Linked DNA regions of Homo sapiens: all the other regions are linked to region 3. The links are contacts of gene promoters, found by promoter capture Hi-C in blood cells and fetal thymus (Javierre and others, 2016). All regions are on one chromosome and are shown on one strand. The core of a region is centred on a gene start or on the middle of the fragment in contact, and the rest is flanking DNA. Distances in the headings are between cores, read along the strand shown.

The links. The method cuts DNA at HindIII sites, captures the fragments that hold promoters and counts their contacts. A CHiCAGO score of 5 or more calls a contact.
Region 1: a contact is called between the fragment with the promoter of KCTD11 here and a fragment that was not itself captured in region 3, in 3 of 17 cell types (activated CD4 T cells, erythroblasts and non-activated CD4 T cells). The highest score is 5.8, in activated CD4 T cells.
Region 2: the fragment with the promoter of CD68 here is called in contact with a fragment that was not itself captured in region 3 in 7 of 17 cell types (total CD8 T cells, fetal thymus, total CD4 T cells and 4 more); the score reaches 9.5 in total CD8 T cells.
Region 4: a contact is called between the fragment with the promoter of TNFSF12 here and a fragment that was not itself captured in region 3, in 1 of 17 cell types (naive CD4 T cells). The highest score is 5.1, in naive CD4 T cells.

The regions. Positions count from the first base shown.
Region 1 is chr17:7,350,769-7,354,024 of GRCh38, forward strand. It overlaps KCTD11 (potassium channel tetramerization domain containing 11), which reads left to right and starts at 1,394. Exons shown (of 1, transcript NM_001363642.1): 1 at 1,394-3,256. The coding sequence starts at 2,058. The coding sequence ends at 2,873. ACAP1 (ArfGAP with coiled-coil, ankyrin repeat and PH domains 1) reads left to right here. Exons shown (of 22, transcript NM_014716.4): 21 at 182-231; 22 at 527-709. The coding sequence ends at 627. RefSeq lists silencers at 463-522, 593-652, 703-1,472. The HindIII fragment of the contact is 3,784 bases long and covers 1-2,756 here.
Region 2 is chr17:7,578,367-7,581,887 of GRCh38, forward strand. CD68 (CD68 molecule) reads left to right here and starts at 1,272. Exons shown (of 6, transcript NM_001251.3): 1 at 1,272-1,360; 2 at 1,444-1,961; 3 at 2,100-2,219; 4 at 2,345-2,417; 5 at 2,530-2,700; 6 at 3,012-3,521. The coding sequence starts at 1,312. The coding sequence ends at 3,145. It overlaps EIF4A1 (eukaryotic translation initiation factor 4A1), which reads left to right. Exons shown (of 11, transcript NM_001416.4): 11 at 1-640. The coding sequence ends at 120. SENP3-EIF4A1 (SENP3-EIF4A1 readthrough (NMD candidate)) reads left to right here. Exons shown (of 22, transcript NR_037926.1): 22 at 1-640. RefSeq lists a silencer at 273-461 and enhancers at 1,937-1,996, 2,097-2,166. The HindIII fragment of the contact is 9,128 bases long and covers 1-3,521 here.
Region 3 is chr17:8,120,113-8,123,298 of GRCh38, forward strand. It overlaps HES7 (hes family bHLH transcription factor 7), which reads right to left. Exons shown (of 4, transcript NM_001165967.2): 2 at 2,919-3,014; 3 at 2,231-2,318; 4 at 480-1,925. The coding sequence ends at 1,459. TRL-TAG1-1 (tRNA-Leu (anticodon TAG) 1-1) reads right to left here and starts at 283; the gene lies at 202-283. TRR-TCT2-1 (tRNA-Arg (anticodon TCT) 2-1) reads left to right here and starts at 813; the gene lies at 813-900. RefSeq lists silencers at 129-338, 1,279-1,738, 1,959-2,068. The HindIII fragment of the contact is 3,122 bases long and covers 1-2,836 here.
Region 4 is chr17:7,547,663-7,551,218 of GRCh38, forward strand. TNFSF12 (TNF superfamily member 12) reads left to right here and starts at 1,396. Exons shown (of 7, transcript NM_003809.3): 1 at 1,396-1,650; 2 at 1,812-1,859; 3 at 2,458-2,533; 4 at 3,137-3,190; 5 at 3,281-3,316. The coding sequence starts at 1,492. It overlaps TNFSF12-TNFSF13 (TNFSF12-TNFSF13 readthrough), which reads left to right and starts at 1,396. Exons shown (of 11, transcript NM_172089.4): 1 at 1,396-1,650; 2 at 1,812-1,859; 3 at 2,458-2,533; 4 at 3,137-3,190; 5 at 3,281-3,316. The coding sequence starts at 1,492. RefSeq lists silencers at 1,291-1,480, 1,511-1,590. The HindIII fragment of the contact is 9,939 bases long and covers 1-3,556 here.

The sequences.
Region 1 (3,256 bases), core at 144-2,643, 770 kb before region 3:
CCCGGCTAATTTTTTGTATTTTTAGTAGAGACGGGGTTTCACCATGTTGGCCAGGACGGTCTCGATCTCCTGACCTCGTGATCCGCCTGCCTCGGCCTCCCAAAGTGTTGGGATTACAGGCGTGAGCCACCGCGCCCGGCCAAAGATAGTGTCGTTCATTTCTTAATTCCCTCCTCTTCAGGCTACGACTGGCAAAGATGAGGGAGGCTGAAGCGGCCCAGGGGCAGGCAGGTAAAGAATACACCCACCCCACCCCCCAGGCCCAACACCTGAACTCTGGGCTTCTGGTCCACGGTGACCTCTCTCCCTAGTGCCCAGCTGCATTCATTCCGTTATTTAACAAATGCGTATTGGGCGCATGCGACGTGCCAGGCCCTGGCAAGGCATAGGTGCTGGCGCAGTGCCCGCGGCGCGCACGTTCCCACCCAGGCTCGGAGCGCGAGGTCCCCAGGTGGGCCCCAACCGCCGGATCCTGCCCTTCTGCACTGGGGCCCAGCCGCCTCCCGGCCTTTCCTCCCTCCCCCAGGAGATGAGACGTATCTTGACATCTTCCGCGACTTCTCCCTCATGGCGTCAGACGACCCGGAGAAGCTGAGCCGTCGCAGTCATGACCTCCACACGCTGTGACCCGAGGCCCACGGGGCCCGCGCCTGCCTCCCTTCCCCGCCACCGGGCCCTCTGCCATTAAAGCCTCCGTGCTTCGCTCTTCCCTTCTGGTTCACTTCTTGGGCGCCACCTTCGGGCCCGTAGGGTGTTGGGCGCTGCGGCTCCCGAGGTGCGGGGAGCAGCTGGGGGTTTGCGAGCTCCAGTCCAGCAAGGTGCGACTCCGGGGAGCGAGGCGGCAGCTTCGGCCGCGGCCTGAGCGCAGGGCGCTGCGGGGCGGGGGCTCTCGGGCTGGGGCGACGTGGCCAGCCCAGTCCTGCCGAGGGGTGGGGCTGGCCCTGGGGCTCGCTGGCCCCGCGCCGCCGCGGAGAGAGCGCGCCCGGGCCACCCCGGCTGGAAGGCATCCCCGGAATGCGGCGGCTCAGCACCCGCCCCCTCGGGAATTCCCCGGGGGAGCCGCTGGGAGGGACTCGGCTCCCGGGCTGGGCCGGCCGGGCCTCGGGCTCTGAGCGGTGGGATTAGAGGCTCCAGCCCCGCCGACTTGCAGACGTGAGATCGGGCACACCTGAGCGGCGGCGGGGCGGTCGTGGCCACATCCGGGGCGACGTGCCTGAGTCACCCCGTCCCGCCAGCGTCTGCCAGTCCAGCCAGTCCGCCCAGTCTCTCGCGTCCGAGACTCGCCTCCAGCCTCCCACCTCCGCCCGGGCCGCGCGAGCCTCGCGGGGGCGGGGGCGGGGCGCCAAGGGGCGGGGCTGTCTCTTAAAGGGCCCCGGGCCGCTGCCCTTAGGCCACTTCCTGGGGGCGGAGAGGACCTCAGCGGCTGCGGCGACACCCAGGGAAGGCGGCGCGGCCGGGTCCCGAAACTCCTGGCTGTTTCCATCAGAGCCCTCGGACACTCCCAGCCCGGGCTGAGCACGCATCGTCGCTCCCCGGCGGATACAAGGGGGCTCCGCCATCCGCTCCCGTCAGTTCGGCCTCCATCTCCTGGGACCCGCGCCGGCAGCCAGGCCAGGCCTCTGAGTGGCCCCAGAGCCCTGGCTGGACTCGTCCACGGCGGCAGCGATCTGCCCGGGGTCTCGGAGGCCATCCCTTCAGAGTCGGCCCTGTGCTCGCCACCGTCACCTGCTGGTTGGATTCCGGAAACCCACTGTCTGAAGACCACAGAGGGGTGTCGCTGACCACCCCAAATCGGATACGTCCAGACCTCAAGCTCCCTTCCCCTCTCTGGCTGCCCTCTGCTCTTTTCATCTCTTCTCTCAACCTTTTGGGGATTTCTGTGTCCTGACACCACCTCCCCATCCACCACCAAAGTAGCCGGGGTGAGCCCCAAACCTTACTGGGTGTGCTCCACCTGTGCCTCCAACCCAGCGAATCTGACAGCTTCGACCCAATTCTGCACACACCCAGGAAGTTCTGCCTTTTCTTTTCTTTCGGTGTCTCCTGTACTTCCCAAAATTTCTCCTCCTCCTGTGCCCTCTTCGCCCCCCTCCTTTGGGGGCCCCGTGACCCTGAATGTGGGGGGCACACTATATTCCACCACTTTGGAGACCCTGACCCGCTTCCCAGACTCTATGCTGGGGGCCATGTTTAGGGCCGGCACCCCCATGCCCCCCAACCTCAATTCCCAAGGAGGCGGCCACTACTTCATCGACCGGGATGGCAAGGCCTTCCGGCACATCCTCAATTTCCTGAGGCTGGGCCGCCTGGACCTGCCCCGTGGGTACGGAGAGACAGCGCTGCTCAGGGCAGAGGCTGACTTCTACCAGATCCGGCCCCTCCTGGACGCGCTGCGGGAACTGGAGGCCTCTCAGGGGACCCCTGCACCCACAGCTGCCCTGCTCCACGCAGATGTAGATGTCAGCCCCCGCCTGGTGCACTTCTCTGCTCGCCGGGGACCCCATCACTATGAGCTGAGCTCCGTCCAGGTGGACACCTTCCGAGCCAACCTTTTCTGCACCGACTCTGAGTGTCTAGGTGCTTTGCGGGCCCGATTTGGTGTGGCCAGTGGGGATAGGGCAGAGGGGAGCCCACATTTTCATCTGGAGTGGGCCCCCCGCCCCGTGGAACTCCCCGAGGTGGAGTATGGGAGACTGGGGCTGCAGCCGCTGTGGACTGGGGGGCCAGGAGAGCGGCGGGAGGTGGTGGGCACCCCAAGCTTCCTGGAGGAGGTGCTGCGGGTGGCTCTCGAGCACGGCTTCCGACTAGACTCTGTCTTCCCCGACCCCGAAGACCTGCTCAACTCCAGGTCTCTGCGCTTTGTCCGGCACTGAGGATGCTGTTCTCAGTTTGACTGTGGGGAGGAGAGAGAATGGGGTACTAGCACCCCTGAAGCCTCTTTCCAGCTCTGCTTCAGGAGCTATGAGAGTCGGGACTCTCCTGCACCTGACTGGAGCTCAGATGTGGGCAGGAATTCCCAAACCTGAGCCCACCAAGGACTCACAAGTGGTCCAGAAGGTCTCAACCTGTGCTGACCCTGGGAGGGGTAGGGAAGGTTCTCTCAGCTTGTTCTTGCCTAAGGCTGAGCACCTCCAGTCTCTCCTTGATTTGGAGCTCAGTGTTTAAGGGCTTGGAAAAGGGGGGAACATCTCTTTACCCAGACTAGACCTAGCAAAACCCTGGAAGGATATTGAGGTCTGGGGAAAAGGGAGGACTT
Region 2 (3,521 bases), core at 22-2,521, 540 kb before region 3:
CGTAAAGGTGTGGCTATTAACATGGTGACAGAAGAAGACAAGAGGACTCTTCGAGACATTGAGACCTTCTACAACACCTCCATTGAGGAAATGCCCCTCAATGTTGCTGACCTCATCTGAGGGGCTGTCCTGCCACCCAGCCCCAGCCAGGGCTCAATCTCTGGGGGCTGAGGAGCAGCAGGAGGGGGGAGGGAAGGGAGCCAAGGGATGGACATCTTGTCATTTTTTTTCTTTGAATAAATGTCACTTTTTGAGGCAAAAGAAGGAACCGTGAACATTTTAGACACCCTTTTCTTTGGGGTAGGCTCTTGCCCCAGGCGCCGGCTCTTCTCCCAAAAAAAAAAAAAAAACACTAATCCATTTCCCTAACCTAGTAACCTCCAGATCCCAGAGGCTCTCCTCACCTCAGCTGAGCTCCTTTGAAAGTGATTCAAGGGACTATGTCACTCAGCCTCATTTGCTGGACCAAATCTGGAGGGAGAACCCCTAAAACCCCTAAGTGAGGTTGCCCAGGGGGTTGTCCCCAGGTGGGGGGAAGCAGGGGAGAGAAAATGGTAGCCATTTTTACATTGTTTTGTATAGTATTTATTGATTCAGGAAACAAACACAAAATTCTGAATAAAATGACTTGGAAACTGCCTGTTTGGGCTTCTCATTTCTTACCTCCCCTTCCCTCTCCCACCTGCTACTGGGTGCATCTCTGCTCCCCCCTTCCCCAGCAGATGGTTACCTTTGGGCTGTTGCTTTCTTGTCACCATCTGAGTTCTCAGACGCTGGAAAGCCATGTTCTCGGCTCTGTGAATGACAATGCTGACTGGAGTGCTGCCCCTCTGTAAAGGGCTGGGTGTGGATGGTCACAAGCCCCTCACATGCCTCAGCCAAGAGGAAGTAGTACAGGGGTCAGCCCAGAGGTCCAGGGGAAAGGAGTGGAAACCGATTTCCCCACCAAGGGAGGGGCCTGTACCTCAGCTGTTCCCATAGCTACTTGCCACAACTGCCAAGCAAGTTTCGCTGAGTTTGACACATGGATCCCTGTGGATCAACTGCCCTAGGACTCCGTTTGCACCCATGTGACACTGTTGACTTTGCCCTGATGAAGCAGGGCCAACAGTCCCCTAACTTAATTACAAAAACTAATGACTAAGAGAGAGGTGGCTAGAGCTGAGGCCCCTGAGTCAGGCTGTGGGTGGGATCATCTCCAGTACAGGAAGTGAGACTTTCATTTCCTCCTTTCCAAGAGAGGGCTGAGGGAGCAGGGTTGAGCAACTGGTGCAGACAGCCTAGCTGGACTTTGGGTGAGGCGGTTCAGCCATGAGGCTGGCTGTGCTTTTCTCGGGGGCCCTGCTGGGGCTACTGGCAGGTAAGGAGGAAGGAGGCTGAGGGGAGGGGGCCCCTGGGAGGGAGCCTGCCCTGGGTTGCTAACCATCTCCTCTCTGCCAAAAGCCCAGGGGACAGGGAATGACTGTCCTCACAAAAAATCAGCTACTTTGCTGCCATCCTTCACGGTGACACCCACGGTTACAGAGAGCACTGGAACAACCAGCCACAGGACTACCAAGAGCCACAAAACCACCACTCACAGGACAACCACCACAGGCACCACCAGCCACGGACCCACGACTGCCACTCACAACCCCACCACCACCAGCCATGGAAACGTCACAGTTCATCCAACAAGCAATAGCACTGCCACCAGCCAGGGACCCTCAACTGCCACTCACAGTCCTGCCACCACTAGTCATGGAAATGCCACGGTTCATCCAACAAGCAACAGCACTGCCACCAGCCCAGGATTCACCAGTTCTGCCCACCCAGAACCACCTCCACCCTCTCCGAGTCCTAGCCCAACCTCCAAGGAGACCATTGGAGACTACACGTGGACCAATGGTTCCCAGCCCTGTGTCCACCTCCAAGCCCAGATTCAGATTCGAGTCATGTACACAACCCAGGGTGGAGGAGAGGTAAAGCTAAAACTGGGGGATGAGAGGGGAGGGAGGCAGGACTGGATATAGGCTCAGAGGGAAGAAGGAAGAGGGGACAGGGAACCTTGGCCGGCATCGCATGCAGTCTTGTGACCTTCCAGTCTTTAACTTCCGCAGGCCTGGGGCATCTCTGTACTGAACCCCAACAAAACCAAGGTCCAGGGAAGCTGTGAGGGTGCCCATCCCCACCTGCTTCTCTCATTCCCCTATGGACACCTCAGCTTTGGATTCATGCAGGTATAGCCATGACCTCAGTCTCACCCCTCACTCAGCCTCCCGGCGCCCCTCCCCTCCCAATCCCACACGCTACTCCTTCCTCTGTGGAGAGGGATACCACCTGCGCCTTCCTCTTCGCCCCACAGGACCTCCAGCAGAAGGTTGTCTACCTGAGCTACATGGCGGTGGAGTACAATGTGTCCTTCCCCCACGCAGCACGTAAGTAACCTCCTTCCCTTTCTCATTGCTACCACTAGACGCCAGGGTTCCTGAAAGGACTAAGCTGGGGCCAGGGAGGTGGATAGGATCTGACCCTTCCTCACTCCTCCAGAGTGGACATTCTCGGCTCAGAATGCATCCCTTCGAGATCTCCAAGCACCCCTGGGGCAGAGCTTCAGTTGCAGCAACTCGAGCATCATTCTTTCACCAGCTGTCCACCTCGACCTGCTCTCCCTGAGGCTCCAGGCTGCTCAGCTGCCCCACACAGGGGTCTTTGGGCAAAGTAAGACCTACCTACTCCTTCCCTCCTAGAATCCTCCCACTGCACTGAAAACCCCTTCCCCAGGCCCATAAGCCACTCATCTCTCTTCTTAACCCCCCAAATCTCGCTCTCCCAGCTTGTCATGGCTACAGGGCAGCTTTCTTTCCATCCTCTACAAGACTCTGCCAGTTTCCCCCTTTTATCACTGCTGAGTCACTGCGGTGAGCTCCTCACCAATCTCCTACTCCCCAGCATCCCCCCATTCCCTCCTCCCACCTTTATCCCAACCAGCACGTCACTGCAAATACCTACCTGCCCTATCCTTCCGCCAGGTTTCTCCTGCCCCAGTGACCGGTCCATCTTGCTGCCTCTCATCATCGGCCTGATCCTTCTTGGCCTCCTCGCCCTGGTGCTTATTGCTTTCTGCATCATCCGGAGACGCCCATCCGCCTACCAGGCCCTCTGAGCATTTGCTTCAAACCCCAGGGCACTGAGGGGGTTGGGGTGTGGTGGGGGGGTACCCTTATTTCCTCGACACGCAACTGGCTCAAAGACAATGTTATTTTCCTTCCCTTTCTTGAAGAACAAAAAGAAAGCCGGGCATGACGGCTCATGCCTGTAATCCCAGCACTTTGGGAGGCTGAGGCAGGTGGATCACTGGAGGTCAGGAGTTTGAGACCAGCCTGGCCAACATGGTGAAACCCTGTCTCTACTAAAAATACAATTAGCCAGGTGTGGCGGCGTAATCCCAGCTGGCCTGTAATCCCAGCTACTTGGGAGGCTGAGGCAGAACTGCTTGAACCCAGGAGGTGGAGGTTGCAGTGAGCCGTCATCGCGCCACT
Region 3 (3,186 bases), core at 26-2,525:
CTTCAGCAGTTACCATCAGGTCTTAGCTTCTGGGATGGATGCAGGCCTATGATCTCTCTGGAAGACCAAACACGGAAGATGATGGTGAAACCATTACCAGGGGAATTCGTAAAATTACTTTCTGCATGTAAATAGGTGTAACCTCACAGAACTGTTAACAGAACTGTAGCAGGTGCGTAATCCACCAGAAAAACTCCAGCCTGGCAGCGGTGGGATTCGAACCCACGCCTCCGAAGAGACTGGAGCCTAAATCCAGCGCCTTAGACCGCTCGGCCACGCTACCTGCACGAAAACTTACTGTCCCCGTTGTCCTCCTAAGAGACTAGAAGTAAGGAATGGGGCAAATCTTAAGAGTGCCAAATTGATTCGTCTCCTTTTCCACATCTTTTAGACTGGAAATGAAGAACCATCGAGACTGTGGACCGCATAGCAGCAGATGGCAGAACAGATAAACGAGAAGAGACAAAAACACACAGAAATTTACAACAAAACTAGTTTATTTGGGTGGGACTATATCTGGGAGTGGGGAGCGCCTGAGCCGGAAACACCCCCCAAGCGGGCAGCCGGAGCTCTGCACTCGCTCGCTCAGCCATTTTCGGTTGCTCTCCCTCCCTGTTTTTTCGACCCATGTGCGCCCTCTCTCTCACCTGGCTAACATGCTTTGCGCCCGCTACCTCTACCTGGCTTGGCCTCTGAGATCCAAACCGCGCCCTCCTGGCATGTCCCGCCCAAGTCCCTTAGCCCCGCTCCCCAACCCTGCCCCATTCCCACTCTAGTACCCGTAAGCTACAAGACGCCGCCGTTCGTCGGGTGGCTCTGTGGCGCAATGGATAGCGCATTGGACTTCTAGTGACGAATAGAGCAATTCAAAGGTTGTGGGTTCGAATCCCACCAGAGTCGATTTTATTTCAATTTTTCCTTTTTATCCGTTTTTTTCTTAAAGGCCCCCATCCCTTCTCCCCCTACCCTATCTCTCTCTTTCCACCTGGTTTCAATTTCGATCTCAGTTCCCGCTCTGCTCTCTTCTTTACTTACCTGTCTGCCCCGGGGCTTGGGCCATGGAGAGCAGGACTGAGGGTGGGAGACAGAAGGGAAGGGAAAGTGGGCGTGGACGTCGAGATAAAGGCAGGCCCCTGGCTCGGGGACACACGGGGATTTAATAACCACTTTATTCCATGCACTAGGGACTCGGGAAGGGACTGGGACTGGGCTGAGGGGCAGAGAGAGTACAATCCTAGACGCAAGGGAGAAGTTGGGGCAGGGAAAAGGGACAGGAACCAGGGAAATATATATTTATATAGATACTCTAATATAGACCACATCTCACCCGCGCGCTGAGCCCGCGCGCCCCACTGCCCTCCCCAACACCTGCTCGCCCGGACGCCCGGGTCCCTCTGCTGCCCTCGGGCTGGAGTCTCTACCCCACCCCTAGACCCCGCCCCCACCACCCCCCAAGGCTCAGGGCCAAGGTCTCCAGAAAGCGGGCGGCGGGGGCAGCGGGGCCTTGGGCGCCCCGTCTTGTCTGTGAGGCGGCGGTGGCGGCGGCAGCAGTCCGGTGAGGGGCGCCGGCGCGCCAGAATCCCCGGCGCGCGGGGAGCAGAGGGATGGGGACCATGCGCAGCGCGGGCTAGGGTGGCCCTGGTGCACTGGGGGGCGCTGGTGCAGCGCAGGGCCAAGGGCCGGTGCGGCGGGGTCCAGGGATGGGCGCGGCGCTGGAGGCCTCGGATCTACCGGCTTGGGCCGGGGCGGTTTGGGGCGCAGATAGCCGTGCAGCGCGGAGAAGAGCTGGGCGCGGGCGGCCGGGCTGGCGTCGTGCGCGAAGGCCGCCAAGCGAAGCAGGCACTCGCGGAAACCGGACAAGTAGCAGCTGGCGAGCGCCTCGGCGTCCTGGACTGGGGACCGGGGAACCCCTGGAGCCGCGGCGGCTGGTGCGGCCGGCGGGAGCACAGGTGGGCAGGGCAGGGGCCCGGCAGGGGTGAGGGAAGGGGCGGGGCGCAGAGATACCAAGGCCGGACAGGCGCACAGAGACAGGAAGCCAGATGGACGGAAAGAGGGAGAAAATGAGGGAGACACAGAGACAGACACGCGCGGGTGTTATTAACCTCGCCTCGGAGCAGAACCGGCCACTCCCCAAGCCCACCATCCACCGCAGGGCCCGCCCACTCTGCCCCGGCCGGAGCCTCCTGGCGTCCCCCCTCCCTCCCTCCGCTGCCCCACCCCCGCGCTGTACCCGGGGGCTCCACCCGGCTTCGCTCCCTCAAGTAGCCCACGGCGAACTCCAATATCTCCGCTTTCTCCAGCTTCGGGTTCCGGAGGTTCTACAGACGGGAGGGGAGGGCGCAGAGACAGAAAGGGGTGGGGAGAAAGGGGGAAAGTGGCAGGGGGAAGAAGGGAGGGACGGATGCGGGAGCTGGTGGTGCCCCCGATCGCATTTGCGCACTGCCCACAGAACGCGCGACCAAATGCGGAGTGGAGATGACCAAGGAAAGTCCTGGCCCACCCTGAGACGAAACTGTCCAATCCTAGGGGTTGGAACCAATGCCCAACGCGTGAGGAGGAGATTTGAAACCGCAACCCAGGGAATGAAATTAACCACCCGACATAACAGAGGCTGGCTCATCAGAGGCTGGCTGTGGGGGAGGGGGAACCGGACACTTAGAGACCCAAAGGGTGAAACTGACCGACCCCGGGAGCGAAATTTACAGAACCAGGCGTGAAACTTACAGACCCGAGGGGTGGCGAAGAAGATCGCGTTCTGAGAGCGAGTGGGGGTCTGGGATGGAATTCCAAAGGCGGGACTCGGGTGAGGATGCCTTGGGGCCAGGGTTGCCAACCAAGCTTGTGTCCCCACCCCAGTGGGAAGCCCTGGGACGCGGAAACGGGAAGCTTGGGGACCTAGGGCTAGCGGAGGGACTGACCTGGTCCCGGGTCCGCTCCAGCAGCAGCAGCCTCAGCTCTTCCAGGCTGCGGTTGATGCGGTCCCGGCGCCGCTTCTCCACAAGCGGCTTGAGCATCTGCGACCAGCGAGAAAAGGAGAGCGGGCCGACCAGACCGAGACTCAGTGCGGCCGCCCCGGCGTCGGATCCCGCCGCTGGGAGAGCCCGGCTTCCACCCCGGCCACAAGACCCCAGATTGCCTAGGGCCGGCCCCATTCGATCCCTCTCCGCTCCCCCTCCCAATGCCCCT
Region 4 (3,556 bases), core at 146-2,645, 570 kb before region 3:
CATCTCAACCTCCTGAGTAGCTGGGACTACAGGCATGCACCACCATGCCCAGCTCTATGGATGCTTTTTCTTGACTCTCTTTAAGTATATTAGGTAGTACTCTTTGTATCCTGAATTATCTCTGTTTCCTCCAATGTCAAATTTTGTTTGTTAATTTTGGTCTTTCTTTCTTTTTTTTTTTTTTTGAGATAGGGTCTTGCTGTGTTGCCCAGGCTGGAGTGTGGTGGCGTGATCTCAGCTCTCTGCAACCTCTGTCTCCTGGGTTCAAGCAATTCTCTGCCTCAGCTTCCCGAGTAGCTGGGAACTACAGGCGCCTGCCACCACGTCCGGCTAATTTTTTTGTATTTTTATTAGAGACAGGGTTTCACCATCTTGGCCAGGCAGGTCTCGATCTCCTGACCTCGTGATCCACCCGCCTCAGCCTCCCAAAGTGCTGCGATTACAGGCGTGAACCATCGCGCCCAGCCAATTTTGGTCCTTCCTTCCTTCCTTCCTTCCTTCCTTCCTTCCTTCCTTCCTTCCCTCCTTCCCTCCCTCCCTCCCTCCCTCCTTTCTTTCTTTCTTCCTTTCTTTCTTTCTTTTTGAGACAAGGTCTGTTGCCCAGGCTGGAGTGTAGTGGTGCAATCACAGCTCACTGCAGCCTCAAACTCCTGGGCTCAAACAATCCTCCTACCTCGGCCTCCTGAGTAGCTGGGACTACAGGCGTGGGCTAATTTTTTAAAACTTTTCTGTAGAGATGGGGTCTTGCTCTTGCCCAGGCTGATCTTGAACTCCTGGCCCCCAGCCTTGGCCTTCTGGGATTACAGGCGTAAGCCACCTGCCGGACCAATTTTGGTGTTTCTTTTGCATGCTGCTGGTCCTCCTCAGATGCTTGGCAATCATTGGTAATGATGGGCTTCAGAACGTGCTACCGGCACAGTGAGTGTTTTAAGCTGAAGGAATTTGAGAAAACCGCAGAAGCCGAAGGATCTTTCTTACCTTCTCCTGCCCTTCTTCCCTGAACCAGGTCATACAACCTGGAACTCCCTGCCCTTTTCCTGAAGAAGCAAATAACAGCCTCCTGCGAGAGGCGCCCTCCCTGCACCTGGGGGAAAGGAGGGTCCTTATCTCTGAAGACACAGGGACACAGAAGAATCTGAACCAACAGGCCTTCCTGAGTTCCCCACCTCCCCGCAGGAGGTGCCCGCACACGCATAGCCCCGTCGCTCCCGCGGCCGCACGCAACGGACCTCGCCCTGGTGGTGCACGCCCGGGCTGGGCGCTCAGAGGTCGGGTGGGCGCCCACTCCGTTCGCTGCGCGCACAGCGCCCGGCGAGAGGCTCGGAGTTTGATCACACACAGCGTCCGGCTTCCTGTCCCCAGCGCCCCCTCCCGCCCCGTTTCCCTTGCCCCTCCCTCTCCCCGGCCCGATCCGCCCGCCGGCTCCCCCTCCCCCGATCCCTCGGGTCCCGGGATGGGGGGGCGGTGAGGCAGGCACAGCCCCCCGCCCCCATGGCCGCCCGTCGGAGCCAGAGGCGGAGGGGGCGCCGGGGGGAGCCGGGCACCGCCCTGCTGGTCCCGCTCGCGCTGGGCCTGGGCCTGGCGCTGGCCTGCCTCGGCCTCCTGCTGGCCGTGGTCAGTTTGGGGAGCCGGGCATCGCTGTCCGCCCAGGTGAGGCCCCGCTGCGCACCCCTTCTTGGGCACATCAGGAGCTGAGACTGCAGAGGGGCCGCTGGGGGCCGCGTGGGCTGAAGGCAAGGGGAAGGGAGGATGGGTGGAGGGTGAGATGTCAGGTGGAGCGGCACAGGGTGACGCTCCCTCCTTCCCAGCAGGAGCCTGCCCAGGAGGAGCTGGTGGCAGAGGAGGACCAGGACCCGTCGGTGAGTGGGCGTGGGCGCGGTCTGCAGGCTGCTGGGGCATGGGAAGTGTGCACAGCCGAGGCTGCAGGTGTGTGCAGCTGTGCCAGCCGTACTCGAGGTGTGTGCAGGGTGTGTGTGAACACAGTGCGTGCATGGGTGCGTGTCTGCAGGGGTGTGTGTGCGTGGTGACAACTCTGTGTGAGGGGTTTGTGCTGGGGTTGTGCCACCTGAGTCTGAGGTGTTTATTGGCTGGGGGTGACGTGGTTGTATAAGATATGTGAGTCTGCGTGGAAGAGGGGTGCGGTTGTGTACAGGGTGTGTATCCTCTGTGCGTGGTGACTGGGTGCGGGCATGTGTGCAATGTGCCAATTGAATGCAGGGTCTGCGTTGGTTGTGTGTGTGGGTGGGAAAGTGTAGCTGGTCTAGAGGAAAGGGTGAGGACTGGGGCCTGACTCCCAGCTTCACCTTTGCCCGGGGCCCCAGCTGTAGTTGGCTGAGGGGCTTAATCTGTCCCTGACTTCTGTGTCTATTGCTGGCTGGTGGCTCTCCTGACAGGCCCCGTATGTCTCACTTTATATCTCTGGGAGTCTGTGGTTGAACCCTGCCCTAATTCCCCTAGGAACTGAATCCCCAGACAGAAGAAAGCCAGGATCCTGCGCCTTTCCTGAACCGACTAGTTCGGCCTCGCAGAAGTGGTGAGCATCCCTCTATCCCAACCTCAGGAAGCGGGCAGAGCAAAAACCATTATCCACAGGGAGAAACTGAGGCACGGAGGGTGAAAGGAGTTCAGAGTCATGCAGCTAACCAGCCAAGACTCAAACCTAGGGATTCTCGCCCTCCTCTGAAGCTCCTTCTGTCATATGGATGTGCTCCTTCAGACCCTACCCCAAACAGGAAGGCAGGGTGGCCATGAGTTAGAAGAACTACTGGGATCCTGATGGAGACTAGGCCTGGCAGTCAGAGGCCTGGGCCCCGGTAGGCAAAGAGACTTAGGAATGGGATGATGGGGTGGCCGGATGACCACGTGTCCAAGTCGGCATGCAGTTGTCCTGGCCCCCACCTGTTATCTCGGTGTGATTAATAGCAGCTTCCCGTTTTGCTCTCAGCAGTATCCCAGTGTGGATGACAAATTATAGTCACTCTACTTACTGAGGAAGATGAGGCCTGAGATTCTAAGGCCAGGAGTCTGGACAAGAATAAGGATGCCAGGGTTCCTGAGAGGGGAATGGGGCTGGGAGAGTTGCTCTGGGACCCCCACTAGGGCCCGCTTTGCTCATCTGTCTTTCCTTGATCCTCAGCACCTAAAGGCCGGAAAACACGGGCTCGAAGAGCGATCGCAGCCCATTATGAAGGTGGGTGATGGGTGAGCCATACCCAGGAGGAGAGGGGCAGGTGGCAGAGGGTCAGGGCAGGTCTCACCAGCCTTTTCCTGTACTTTACAGTTCATCCACGACCTGGACAGGACGGAGCGCAGGCAGGTGAGACCCCATCCCCCGACACAGCACTGGCCTCCTGGGAAAAGGGCCCTTGAAAACCTTTGACCTCCCACTCCCTTCCCGGCCATCAGTCTCAGAACCACAGAAGCCAGTTCATGAAGGTCTTGGTTCTCTCTGTGACCCAGGCGTGGGACCCCATGAAAGACCCCTACTCTTCCCCAGAACTCTGCCCAGTTCCCCCAGCAAATCACTGTCCCAGCTCTCTCCTTCAGCCCTCATTCT